Linked DNA regions of Homo sapiens: region 2 is linked to region 1. Evidence: promoter capture Hi-C in 16 types of primary human blood cells and fetal thymus (Javierre and others, 2016). All regions are on one chromosome and are shown on one strand. Each heading gives the region's core, a stretch centred on a gene start or on the middle of the fragment in contact. The rest is flanking DNA. Distances are from core to core; before and after follow the strand shown.

Region 1 (6,125 bases), core at 120-2,619:
ATGTGGGAGTTCACAAAGTTGATCTCATGGAAGTAGAGAGTAGAATGATATTACCAGAGGTGAAGAACGGTGTGTGTTAGAGGAGAAGTGAGTTTGGTTAATGGGTACAAACATACAGTTACACAGAAAGAATAAGTTCTAATATTTGATAGCAGCATAGGGTGACTACAGTTAACAATGTATTGTATGTCTCAAATCAGCTAGAAGAGAGAGTGTAAAATGTCCTCAACACAGAGAAATGATAGACAAGGTGATGAATATCCTGATTTCATCATTACGTATCCTCTGTGTGTAAAGTATTTCATATGCCCCATAAATATGTAAACATATTATGTATCAATTTTTAAAAAGTGCCATATGTAGATCAGTGATGGGAGTGTGTGCTGCAGAACTAATCCAGTTCTGTAAACCTGAGATCCTCCGCGACCCGGGAAGCAGGACATCCACCAACCACATGGGAAAGCCCGATCCTCAGTGCTCTGAGGCTTTGGCCATCAATGCAGGGCTTGCTGGCCTGGAGCAGGAGTGGACAGCCAGTGGGGAAGCGAGGCCACTCCACCACAGGCGGGTAAGTCACCGCTGTGGCCACTGCAGCTGGGCCCCAGGAGCCCTGGGAGAGACCACATGGGCATCTGCAGCCGCGCCCTCCACCCGGGACACCACCTTCTGATGAGCACTGGGTGAAGGGATCACTGAAGAGGGTTTAGCAGCAAATTCTATGTAATCAGCAGAATAGATAGCGGGGAGTATAGAAATAAAAAAGAGAGACAAGAAACGCAGAGTTGCATGGGGAAAGCTGGTTTATTTGACTCTCATGGGGTCAGAGAATGACTCTGGGACCCCAGACTTCCCTGGGGGGATAGGCAAGTTCAGCCAGGGCTCCAGATCATTCTATTATATTCTCGATCCAGAATTCAGAGGGTTCACTGAGCATGCTTTTCACCTGCACCATGTGCAGAAGACCAACTGAGGACTCATCCAGGGAGTGTACAGGTGTGGCCTCATCTGCACTGGGAGCAGCGGGTCTGGAGATTCATGCTCAGCAGCAGGAAGGGGTGCTGCAGGAGATGGGTCTGCAGAGGACGCTGGTGCAGGAAGGCTGGCAGCACCCAGAGGACTGGCAGGAGGGAGCCGCATACACGACGGGCCTGCAGCTCACGGGCACGCACACAGAGGACTGGCATCTCACGGGCACACACACGGCTGGCTTGAAGCTCACGGGCACGCACACGGAGGACTGGCAGCCCACGGGGATGTAACAGGATGCCTGGCAGGGGCTGGGCGCGCAGCAGGCTGGCTGGCAGCCCGAGGAGCAGCTGGTGTGGCACATGGTGGCGTGTGGCTGGATAAGGTCGAGGCAGAGGGCAGTGATGTCTGGGGATGGCCTCCCTGGGTAGCCTTTATACCTGGACCCAGGCATCCCCACAGCACAGAAGCACACACCTGTTGTCTTCCTTGTTTTTCTTCCTCAAGGCTGTTTCCTGGAACTCAGTTTTCTGTCGTAGATGATGTTTTTTATCTGGCCCTTTGTTTCGTGACTAATTGCACCCTCTTCAAGCTCTTGTTACATTTGGAAACCTGCCCAAATTTATCAGTGATGCACAGGCAGTTTTAGCTCCACCTGCCTGATATCTGCCTCCCTTCGTTAGTTCTACGCTGAAGCAGACATGAGTGGTACCCAAAAGAGCTCCTCGAACCGCAACTTCTGTTGCATCAACCAGAAACTTTGGGGAAGAGACCAGAACTGAATATAGACAATGAAATCATACTGGGGAACCTGCTGGAGTGAGTGATGCAAAGCTGGCTACTCTATCAACTATACAGTTGAGATTTAGGAGATGCTCGTTTTCAGGCAGCCGTCAACCAGCAGTGCAGACTGTGCTTCCTGAGAGAGAAGAAACTTAGGAGATAAACTCCCATTTCCCAGCTCTCTGCTGGGGCAGGCTTCCAAAATGCAGTGTCACCTTCCAAAATGCAGTGTCACCAGCCGGAGTCAGAGCAGAATACAGTGACCCAACTCTGCCGAGGAGGAAGGGGCCAGCGCTCAAGCAGCTGAAGCCCTGGAGTCCGAGGAGCAGAGAAGCGGAAAGAAGGATCCGTGTGGAGAGCAGGCCCCACACTGTGGAAGCTGACTGTGAATCTGTGGAACGGGGCAGGGCTGTGCATTCCCAGGGCAAGGCAACCACAGGCTCACCAGAGAGAAGCTGCTAGAGGATTGAGAGTGAAGCCCCCCTCCAGTCCCCACGTCGACATCCAGCCGAGACCCCCTACAGCCCGGCACCAAATGAGTAAGGACCACAGACTACAGTGAGACCCGCCTAGGCCAGCCCGAACAAAGCCTAAACCAATTCAGAATAGGATTTTTAGGGAAGACAGTTTGGAATGTGAGTCCCACCAAGATACAGAGTGTTCCAAGTTGTAGATGCTTCCCAGAGATCCACCCTAGCAAAGTGTTGAACAAAAACTGCACAAGATTAAGGTCATTCTCCAGTAACTGACGGCTAGAACAAAAATCAGAAACATGATACAGCTCAGAGTCTGTAAATGCATTATTATGATACCTCATACACAATCAAAATCATCAGATATTGACCAGGCACGGTTGTTTATGCCTGTAATCCCAGCACTTTGGGAGACCAAGATGGGAAGATTGCTTGAGGCTAGGAGTTTCAGACCAGCCTGGGCAACATAGTGAGACTCTGTCTCTACAAAAAAATGGTTAAAAATTAGCCAGACATGGTGGTGCATGCTTGTGGTCCCAGCTACACGGTAGGTTGAGGCAGGAGGGTCTATTGAGCCTGGGAGGTTGAGGATGCCATGAGTTATGATCACACCACTGCATTCCAGCCAGGGCAACAGAGCAAGACCCCGTCTCAAAAAACAAATCATCAGATATTAAAAGATATAGGTAAATTTAATTCACTGTTAAAAAAAATAAACCTGATATGGTCTAGATATTGGACATGGCAAATGATGACTGTAAGCAGCTATTATAGACATCTTCCAAAAAATCCAAGAAAACTGTTCAAATAATTAAAGGAAAACATTGTCTTCATGAATGGATAAATAGGGAATCTCAGTAGAGTAATTGAAGCTATTTTTTAAAATGGGAATCCTAGAACTGAAAAGTACAGTAGTTAGAAATTTTAAATACACCAAATTTGACTTCAAAAATCAACAACGTCCAAATCCAGGAATCTCAGAAAGCCCCCAGTAGGATAAATAGGAAGAAAACCACATCCAGGCACATCATGAAGTGATGAAAACCAAAAATGAAGACAAAATCTCAAAAGCAGTGACAGGAAGACACTTTACATACAAAGGAACAAGGATAAGAAAAACGCCCTGGCTTCTCATGAGAAACAGTGGAGACACATCTTTAAAATGCTGAGCAACAATAACTGGCAATCCGGAAGTCTACATCTATGAAGAACGTGCTTAAAGACTGAGACTGAGGCCGGGCCGGGCACTGTGGTTCACACCTCTAATCCCAGCACTTTGAAGGCTGAGGCAAGAGGATCACTTGAGCCCAAGAGTTGTAGACCAGCCTAGGCAACAAGCAAGAGCACATCTCTACAGAAAATTTAAAAATTAGCTAGGGGTGGCGGTGTGCACCTGTAGTCCCAACTATTCAGGAGGATGAGGCAGGAGGATAGCTTGAGCCCAGGAGTTCGAAGCTGCAGTGAGCTATGACTGCACCATCACACTTCAGCCTGGGTGACCAAGCAAGAAGGGTCTCAAAAAACCCCAGAAACTGAGATTGAAGTGAAAATCTGTTCAGAGGAACAAAAGCTGGGAGAAATCCTCCCCTGCAGATGTGCGCTGCAGGCAACGTGGACAGATGTGCTTTAGGTTGACTAGGACGAGGCCAGGTGGGCCCTGACCTGCAGGAAGGAGTAAGGGCCAGGCAACGTGCACGGATGTGCTTTAGGTTGACTAGGACGAGGCCAGGTGGGCCCTGACCTACAGGAAGGAGATGGGGGAAGGTAAAGGAGCAGGTAAATATCAAAGATGCATCCTCATTCTTCTGTAGTCAACTTGTAAGACAGCTAACCTTTAAAATGGATTACTTGGTGACTAGGTCACATAGGAACATGTGATCACTGTGGCTGCCCCAATTCTCTTGGTTTTTAAGTGTGATTCTGAACTATAGCAGTGAAAGGAGTTGCCTGTGACAGGGCTGAACTTGTGGCCTCGCCCGGCTTGTCCCTAGGCCTTAAGGTCACTCTCACATGGCCACAGATCGGCTCTGGGTCCATAGACTTCTAAGTTCTGTCCACAGCTCTGAGACCCCACTTGGTCTTCAGCCTTGGAGGGGATTTCATTAACATGGTGTCTGACTTGTCTGAAGGCTTCTTGGCAGGAATCACCCATATCCACCACCAGCAGGCACAGGAGGACCCACACAGGAGCAGAGGGTGCCCCTGGGAGCTGCCTGGGATGGAGGGAGTAGCTCTGCCGTGAGAGATGGCTCATACCCCTACTGTGTGACACCACCGTAGAATAAAGCGCTGTGGCCAATCCATCGAGAGAACAGAGCTGGAGTGTGAGGAGGAGCGTGCCATCCACACTCCTGCCCGCTGCTTCCCAAGTTCAGGGGCATCCTGGAATTTCACACCAGCTCCTCACTTTCCCCCAAGCTGCCTCTGCAGGGGTGAGACTGACCAGACCCACAGCGAGGGAGAGGAACCAGACATGAGTAGCTCAGGCCCTCCTCTGTGATGGGTCCTCCTGGGCTCCGTCTGCAGAGGAGGTGTCCTGTGGCCATTAGTGCTACTCGTGGGAAGTGGGCACTTCTGAGGTGTGGTGTCAGGAAGCCCACTGTGGTCACACGCCTGAGCCATGCTCTGCAGACGCCAACGTGGCTGATGTTTTCATCCATCTTCTCTGTCCCAGCTGGTTCAGGACTTCAGGATGAGTCACTTATTGAACCCTCTACCCCCGGTATAATTTGGCACAGTGGTAATGACCATGGATCCCAGAGTGAAACTAAGCAGTCCAGATCCCTGCACCTCTGCAGTGGTGCAGACACGCACCCATTGTGCAAACCCTCTATGACTTACAAATTGCACATCTGTAAAATGGGGTATCAGCCACCCCGAATGCTGGCAAAGATCAATGAGATAATCACAACCTGGCACAGTGTTAGACCTCTGTGCATTACTGTTACCTCAATAATCATCATTATTATTCCACAATATGGAGCCCAGTAGCTTGGCTCTCATTACTTGGGAAGACCCTGATGATGACTGAGCTTCTCAGTCAAAACGGGGCCCCTGGTGCAGTGAGTGTGACTGTGTTTGTGTGAGCTCCAGATGGCATTTGCAACAGGGGGACCTTGAACATCCATGAGGTGGACCCCTGGCCTCACTGACAGCCCTTCACCAGCTCCCCTCGGCTCTGTTTCCAGGAAACACATGGTCTGCTGAGTCATGGGAACCCCCAGCTCAGAGGTTCCTGAACTGAGTAACCTCAACAAGAAAACCCAGAAAGATCAACAGGAGAGGGCAGAGGAGGAAAACCCACCCAAGGAGGAAGATGCCAGGGGCCTTGCTGCCCGAATGCCCATGACCTGCCCTGGTTCTATGCTGCATCTCCACCACCTGCTGCCCACCCAGGGCTGTGGGACCTCCTGCTGCCACCTGGCCACCCCCGCCCTGCCCCCCGCACCGTGCAGCTCTGCTGTGCCGGCCCCTGTGTGAGGCATCCACCTCCTGCCAGCTGGCCTGCCGCATGCTCAGGTCGGGCCTGTGTGTGGCCGCCTCCTGCGGGTCCTCCAGGTGCTGCCCGCCCTTCTGCCCCTTCCCTGGCCTGCAGACCTGTGACCTGCCACACCGGCCTGCTGCTGATGGATTATCCTGATAATCAACTCTCTGCTATTGTTTAGCAAAAGCCTTTCCCTTTGTCCTATTATCAGAATCCCCCTGCACTTCTCAGTCCCTGGTGACAGATCCACCTCCCACTGTGGCTGGAATTTCCCCTGAACGTTCTTGTGCAGGAAGGCTTAGTTCTCTATCAAAAATAAGTCTCTCTGCTCCTTAATAGTGGGTCTTTTTAAAAATTTCCCTGAAGCTGTTTCTCGTTGTCCTTTGCCTTCCTGACCAAGACAATGTCAGCATGGGGTT
Region 2 (5,795 bases), core at 957-3,456, 190 kb before region 1:
AAACCCGGAACCCTCTGCTCATTTCACCCTTTCAACACACATTTTCCAGGCACTTCTGCTGCTCAGCATCTCCCAAGGGTGAGCCCTGAGCTCTTGCAGGGATGAATGCTTTCCATGGCTTTTCTGTCTGCCTGCAGTTACAACCCCTGATCTCTGGGGACAGGACCTGCCAGGTCTGTCTGGAGAATACCCATGTGAGACTGAAACTGGCTTCTCCCACTCTCAGCCCCAGTGACCTGCTCTGTAAGGCTGGTTATAGGTGTGGCTGCTGCCCCTGCCCAAATGCTTTAGGTTTCCCTCCTGGGATTCTCCTGCCCCTCTAAGCAGCTCTCCAGGGGACCCCATCCTGACAAAGAAAGCAGAAAATGGAGTTCCTGATGAGAAAAGAACTGTTCTGTGAGGAACACAAGTCCTTTTACATGATCGGGCACAGAGAGATGTGGAGAGGGGACAGGAGTCCTGTCCTTCTCCCTCTGAGCTGTGTGTTCATCTTCAGGAGCTGCGTGCGATGACCATGAGGAGCCACTAACTAACAAATCATGCCCACCGGATGCTGCAACCTGCACCACGTAGCTTAGCAGTGTTATTTCTGTGAGCCAGCGAGACTCCCGACAAGCAGCTTTGTGTCGGCCTGCTCCATGTCACCCTCTTTTGCCTTAAAAACCTGCCTATAATGAAGGCCAAAGAAAGCAAGCTCATGGCCGGGAAGCTCACAGCCAGGCGTACGTGGGTGTGAGTCTTCTGGGCTGCTGTCCTCACCCTGGCTCAAGTCAACTCTTTAAGTTAGACTTCATGCCTCAGCCTCTTCCTTTTAGGTGAACACTGATGGGAATACAGGAAGGGCCCCCATCCTTCCCTGTCTGAAGCTCAGACTCCGCATGAGAGGACTTCCCACTCCATCTCAGGATGGAGACAGCCTGCTGAGGATGCAGCTTTGTCCAATGAGGTCAGGAGGGCTGGTGGCAGCGTCTGTTAATTCCGTTGGGGCAGCCAGTGGCAACTGGCAGTTATTCCAGCTGAGGATGCTGGGATGGATTTTTTTTTTTTTTTTTTTTTTTTGAGACAGGGTCTTCCTCCGTCATCCAGGCTGGAGTGCAATGGCATGATCTCGACTCACTGCAGCCTCAACCTCCTGGGTTCAAGCAACTCTTCTGCCTCAGCCTCCCAAGAAGCTGGGATTACAGACGTGCACCACCAAGCCTGGCTAATTTTTGTATTAATAGAGGGTTTCACCGTGTTGGCCAGGCTGGTCTCGAACTCCTGACCTCGTGATCCTCTGCTTCGGCCTCCCAAATTGTGGGGATTACAGGCGTGAGCCACCGCACCTGGCCTGGGACGGAATTTTAAGTGAACTGCGGCCCTTAGCTCATGAGCCCAGCTTCGGTGTCTGATGAAACGACACCGCAGGGATGGGGGAGAGGGGAAGATTCGCAGGTCACGCCGAAACCTCTGGTTAGCCCCGGCTTCCACATCCTTCCCAAAATCTTTAGCCCAAGTGCCGCACAGCCCCTTTTGCATGTCTTCCCCACTCCTTGGTGGCAGAGGCCCCTGTTGGTAAAGCAACAATAGAGAAGTGGAGAAGATAAAGAGCTGTGAAAACTGCCCCAGAGAAGCTGCAAGAAGCTTTGCTGGAATCAGGTTTTGCATCTCCGAATCGGAGCTCCATTTGTTGGGTCGGGGACCATGCTTAGTGGTTCAAGAACTGACAGAAGAGGTGTTTGCAAAATGCTTGTTGGGAGGATAAACAGCTAAAGGAAATTTTATCTGAGCCTGAGAACCGCCTGCACCAGCACAAAAGTAAAGCCCCAGCGCCCTCGGGCCAGGCCTGCTGGAAAAATTCCCATGTGTCAGCCCCAGGAAGACGTGGGCAAGATGAGGCGTATCCTGACCAACGCAGGAAATGGCCCTGCTCTTCTGCTGGCCCCTCTTCCACCATCGAGGCCGCTCATCCAAGCGGCGGGAAGTAAGAGGGTCAACTTTTGCACGGCCATTGAGAGGTTTCCTGGAAACCTGGCTCTCTCCCCACCGTTGCCCCATGAGCATGGTGGTGACGAGCTTGGGCTCTGAGATCAGAAAGTCTCAAGTGTGAAACCTCAGTCTTCTTCCTTATTAGCTGTGAGACTTTGGGCAAATTACTTAACCTCTCTGAACCTTAGTTTCCTCAAACTGTAAAATGGGGCAAATGTTGGGTGACACTCAGCATAACGTCAGAAATAGTGCCCAATAAATGTTGATCTCATCGGCCCCACAGCCCATTCCGCCACTCTCTTCTTTCTCTTCCTCCCCACAACCCAATTTCATCATTGCCTACAAACAGCCACAGGATAGAACTCGGGACAGTTCGGGACAGCTCTGGACAGCCCAGAGGTTATTTACAAGTCTAAGAGCAATCAGTGTGTCCTGCCCAACTGCCCAGCTGTTTGAAAAGCACAGTAAGAAGCTGGTGCTGTCCATAAGCCACATAGCTTTCTAGGAATGACAGGGGTGTGGATTTACAAAGTCACTCTTGACCCTTTAAAATAACACAACTATTTTCTGCTCCCACCATATCTCAAGTGGCACCCAGATTGTGAGGCCTTCCATCCAGTGAGTAGTGTCAGCTGGAGAGGTGGTGACTGATTTAGGGCTCCGGTTTAGGGCTGAACCAGGGTCAGCTGCTTCTTTGTGTGTTGGTCCCCTTCTGCGGAAAGCAAAGGGATTGGACCAGATGATCGTGAAAGAACCTTCCGATGTTAAGATGTAGAGTTTCGATGGTTCCATGATAGAGAGGGATCACAGAAAAGCTCCACAAAGCTTAACCTCCCAGGGGGACAATTACAATAATGTGAAGTTAATGCTAACACAGGATAGTTTGATGTGGGTGTGACGGCATAGGGAGGTCGGGGGCCTGGAGGCTTCTCAGACTCATTCTCAGCACCAGATGTGGCATCAGGAACAGCCTGAAGGGAGGCTAAGGGATCCCGCCCTCTCCCCAGCTCTGAAGATGCCTCCACAGTGAAGAAGAGACAGGGAGCCCCCAACTCTGCACTTTCACTGGCTACTCCCACACTGCGGGGCAGGGGAGGAGGAAGACCCCAACACCTCCCACCACCGCTACAGACCCCGACCAAACGTCAGTTCTCACCTGCGCCACCGCCCCAACCACCCCTGAGAGCCATTAGGTGACAGTTGTGCTTCACCCGCAAAAGGTCTTCCTTTGCCAATTTTTGTCACAAGTTTTTGCATATTGTTTGCATAAATTTGCAGGTAGGATTCAAAAGGTCCTGATTCCAATTACACAAGAGAAAACACACTGACTGCAAGTGCAGTTGAAGAAGGTTCTCAGAAGGGCACGCTGGAACCGCTCCCCGGTGCCAGGAGAGGTGTTTGAACTACGTGCTGCTGGGGCGCCCAGACGGGCTTCCCCACGATCCAGGAAATCAGAGCTTTTGCAACGTTGGCTTGAAATCGTGGCTAACAAGACAGAAAAGTGCTCTTCTCAACCCCAGGGGAAGACTGGGGAGGTGGGCGGGGCCCCAGGGCCCACTGATTCCATCCAAGAGGGGGCATGGAAGGACAGCGGCGAGCCCACGTCTGGAGCTTCTCCCTCCTGTGAAAGGCAAACAGAATCCTGAGATGCCAAACTCACTGTTCCAAAGGGAAAGGGAAAGCTTGGAAATGGCGTCACGCAAAACCTGCCTCTCAGGAGAACCAGTCTGTTTCTGAACAGAGAGCTTGCAAGACGGCCGGCCATGTATCTCCCCGGGAGGCCTCCCACACTCTGACAGTGTCGATGAGCAGCTGATCCTCGCGAGTGTGGGACAAAAGACTAGGGCTTGCTTTTATTTTTGTTCAGGGACACAGAGCCAACACCACCAGCTACTAAAGGAATAAAACCACATCTTGCTTGTTTAAAGCAGTAAAGGAACAAAATTGCATAGGCCAGGAGGTGCTTTTGTGTCTCCAGCCGTGACTTCTGGTTAAACACTCGAGAAAAACACAGGCTTGGCTTTTTCTTCTTTTCTGTGTCTACTCTATCTGACGTCAGATGCAGGTTTGCTGAGTGCCAGGTGAGTGCCTAAAGGGCTGTTCCCCCACCTCCCCCTTTCACTTGCAACGTGCACTCAGTGCGTGCTAATTAAAGCCTCCCAGGAGCCTGACCACTGGCCTCATTGCCCACCCACCGTCTTCTCTCTCCCCCTTCCCCCTGCCCTCTCCTCTCCTCCTCTTTTAAATACTCAGCACCTCAAAATGCTCTCTGGAAAAGGCCTGGCCACAGGTCCTGCTGTGACTGGTGCCACTTTTTCCTGGGCAGATTCTCAACCTTGGCATCATAACCCTCTAAGCTGACTGAGACCTGGCTCAGACACTTTCAGTTTTGTGCTCCAAACACTGAGTGGTAACTTTACCCAGAAGTTCTTAGATTTTCAGCCACTCAAGCCAGGCTCTGATTTCCAAAATAAGTCCAGATCTAGAACAGTTTGGGGAATGAAGGGATCTGGCTGAGAGATGGGAGTTGGAACAGTTGCGACACCGTCAGCCTCACATGAACAGAAACAAATTACTCAAACAAGAGAAGAGCAAGGCCCAACTGGAAAAGCATGTGGGTGAGTCTGCAAACCAAAAAAGTACCCGACCCAGGCCTCGATCAATGGAGAAGTTTATTTTGCCAAGGCTAAGGATGCACCCAGGAGACAGGTCTGTGCCTCTCTCCCAAGATGATGTTGAAGGCTTCAGTCAAGGGGAAAAGCCGGCTGGAGGGGGCAGAGGGAGGAGGGTGTGGTCACATGACTGATTGCTCCATGCTGCAGGAGAAAAGGAGCAGGTGGGAACAGTCAGTTACCTGTTTATCTCGTGCTCAGTAAATTGGCACTTTCCATGAGATAAGGGGCACACAGAGCAGCCACTAGTGGAGATGCTGACCCTCTCATCTGCAGCTGTCTGCTTAGGGCAAAGGGAAAGGCAGCTTCCTGCAGGACTCAGCTTTCAGCTTTTTTCTTCTTGGTTGAGTGAATTGGGGTGTCGAGTTTTTAATCTTCCTTTCACAGGTGCTGACCCAATGAGGCCAATCATGTGTGATTGGGACCTTCTGAGTGACTTGGTGGAAAGCAGGGCCCAACCCTCCTGCCCAGGACGCTTGGGAAAGCCTTGCTGGCTGGACGGAGGGGAAGGAGGCTCTCGGCGACTGCCCCCAGAGGGGAGTGGCTCTCCACTGGCCACAGCGATGGCTGGAGTGAGACCTGAGCCCCGGAAAAACACGAAGGTCCCAAAGCCGGCAAAAGTAGACACTGAGTTTATTATTTGCCAGACAAGGGGAGGCTTCCATTTCATTACGAAAGGTCAGGAGTGCTCTCTGAGCTGAAGGTGAACAGACAGCTGCGGTGTAGGAAATAGGAAGTTTTGTCCACAGTTCTGATTGGCGGAAAAAGCACATTGTAAACTCTCTGAGGATCGCTCCTGTTCCGATTTGTGTTGCAGAAGCAGGAGCACCGTTCCTGGAAGACCGTGGCAGGTGTGGTCTGGGCTGCGTGGCCCCGGAGCCTGCTGTCTGAGCCTCTTCTCATGGAGTGGGGGTGGTTTCTCTGGCACCTACATGGGTTAAGAGGGAGGACCCCTGGGGCCTTGCGCCCATCACCCCCTCTCATCCTCACTGCCTGTGACGGACAGACAAGCAGCTCTCCCAGCTGCAGAGACAAGATGACCACAGGAGAGCCAGCAGAGGATGCTGTTACCAGGGAGCTAGGACAGCCAGCACACAGGCAGACGGAGGCACGCAGCCTGAGTCCCAGTCAGCTGGAGGACATGTGATTAAAATG

The links. The method cuts DNA at HindIII sites, captures the fragments that hold promoters and counts their contacts. A CHiCAGO score of 5 or more calls a contact.
Region 2: a fragment that was not itself captured here is called in contact with the fragment with the promoter of KRTAP12-1 in region 1 in 1 of 17 cell types (total CD8 T cells); the score reaches 6.1 in total CD8 T cells.

Annotation. Positions count from the first base shown.
Region 1 is chr21:44,680,794-44,686,918 of GRCh38, forward strand. It overlaps KRTAP12-1 (keratin associated protein 12-1), which reads right to left and starts at 1,370. Exons shown (of 1, transcript NM_181686.2): 1 at 783-1,370. The coding sequence starts at 1,330. The coding sequence ends at 1,040. All of the region lies in intron 1 of TSPEAR (thrombospondin type laminin G domain and EAR repeats), which reads right to left. It also overlaps the pseudogene KRTAP12-5P. The HindIII fragment of the contact is 12,382 bases long and covers 1-6,125 here.
Region 2 is chr21:44,493,270-44,499,064 of GRCh38, forward strand. TSPEAR (thrombospondin type laminin G domain and EAR repeats) reads right to left here. Exons shown (of 12, transcript NM_144991.3): 12 at 4,624-5,795. Among named protein-coding and RNA genes, the nearest start is that of TSPEAR-AS1, 9.9 kb to the right of the region's middle. RefSeq lists an enhancer at 1-81. The HindIII fragment of the contact is 1,170 bases long and covers 1,622-2,791 here.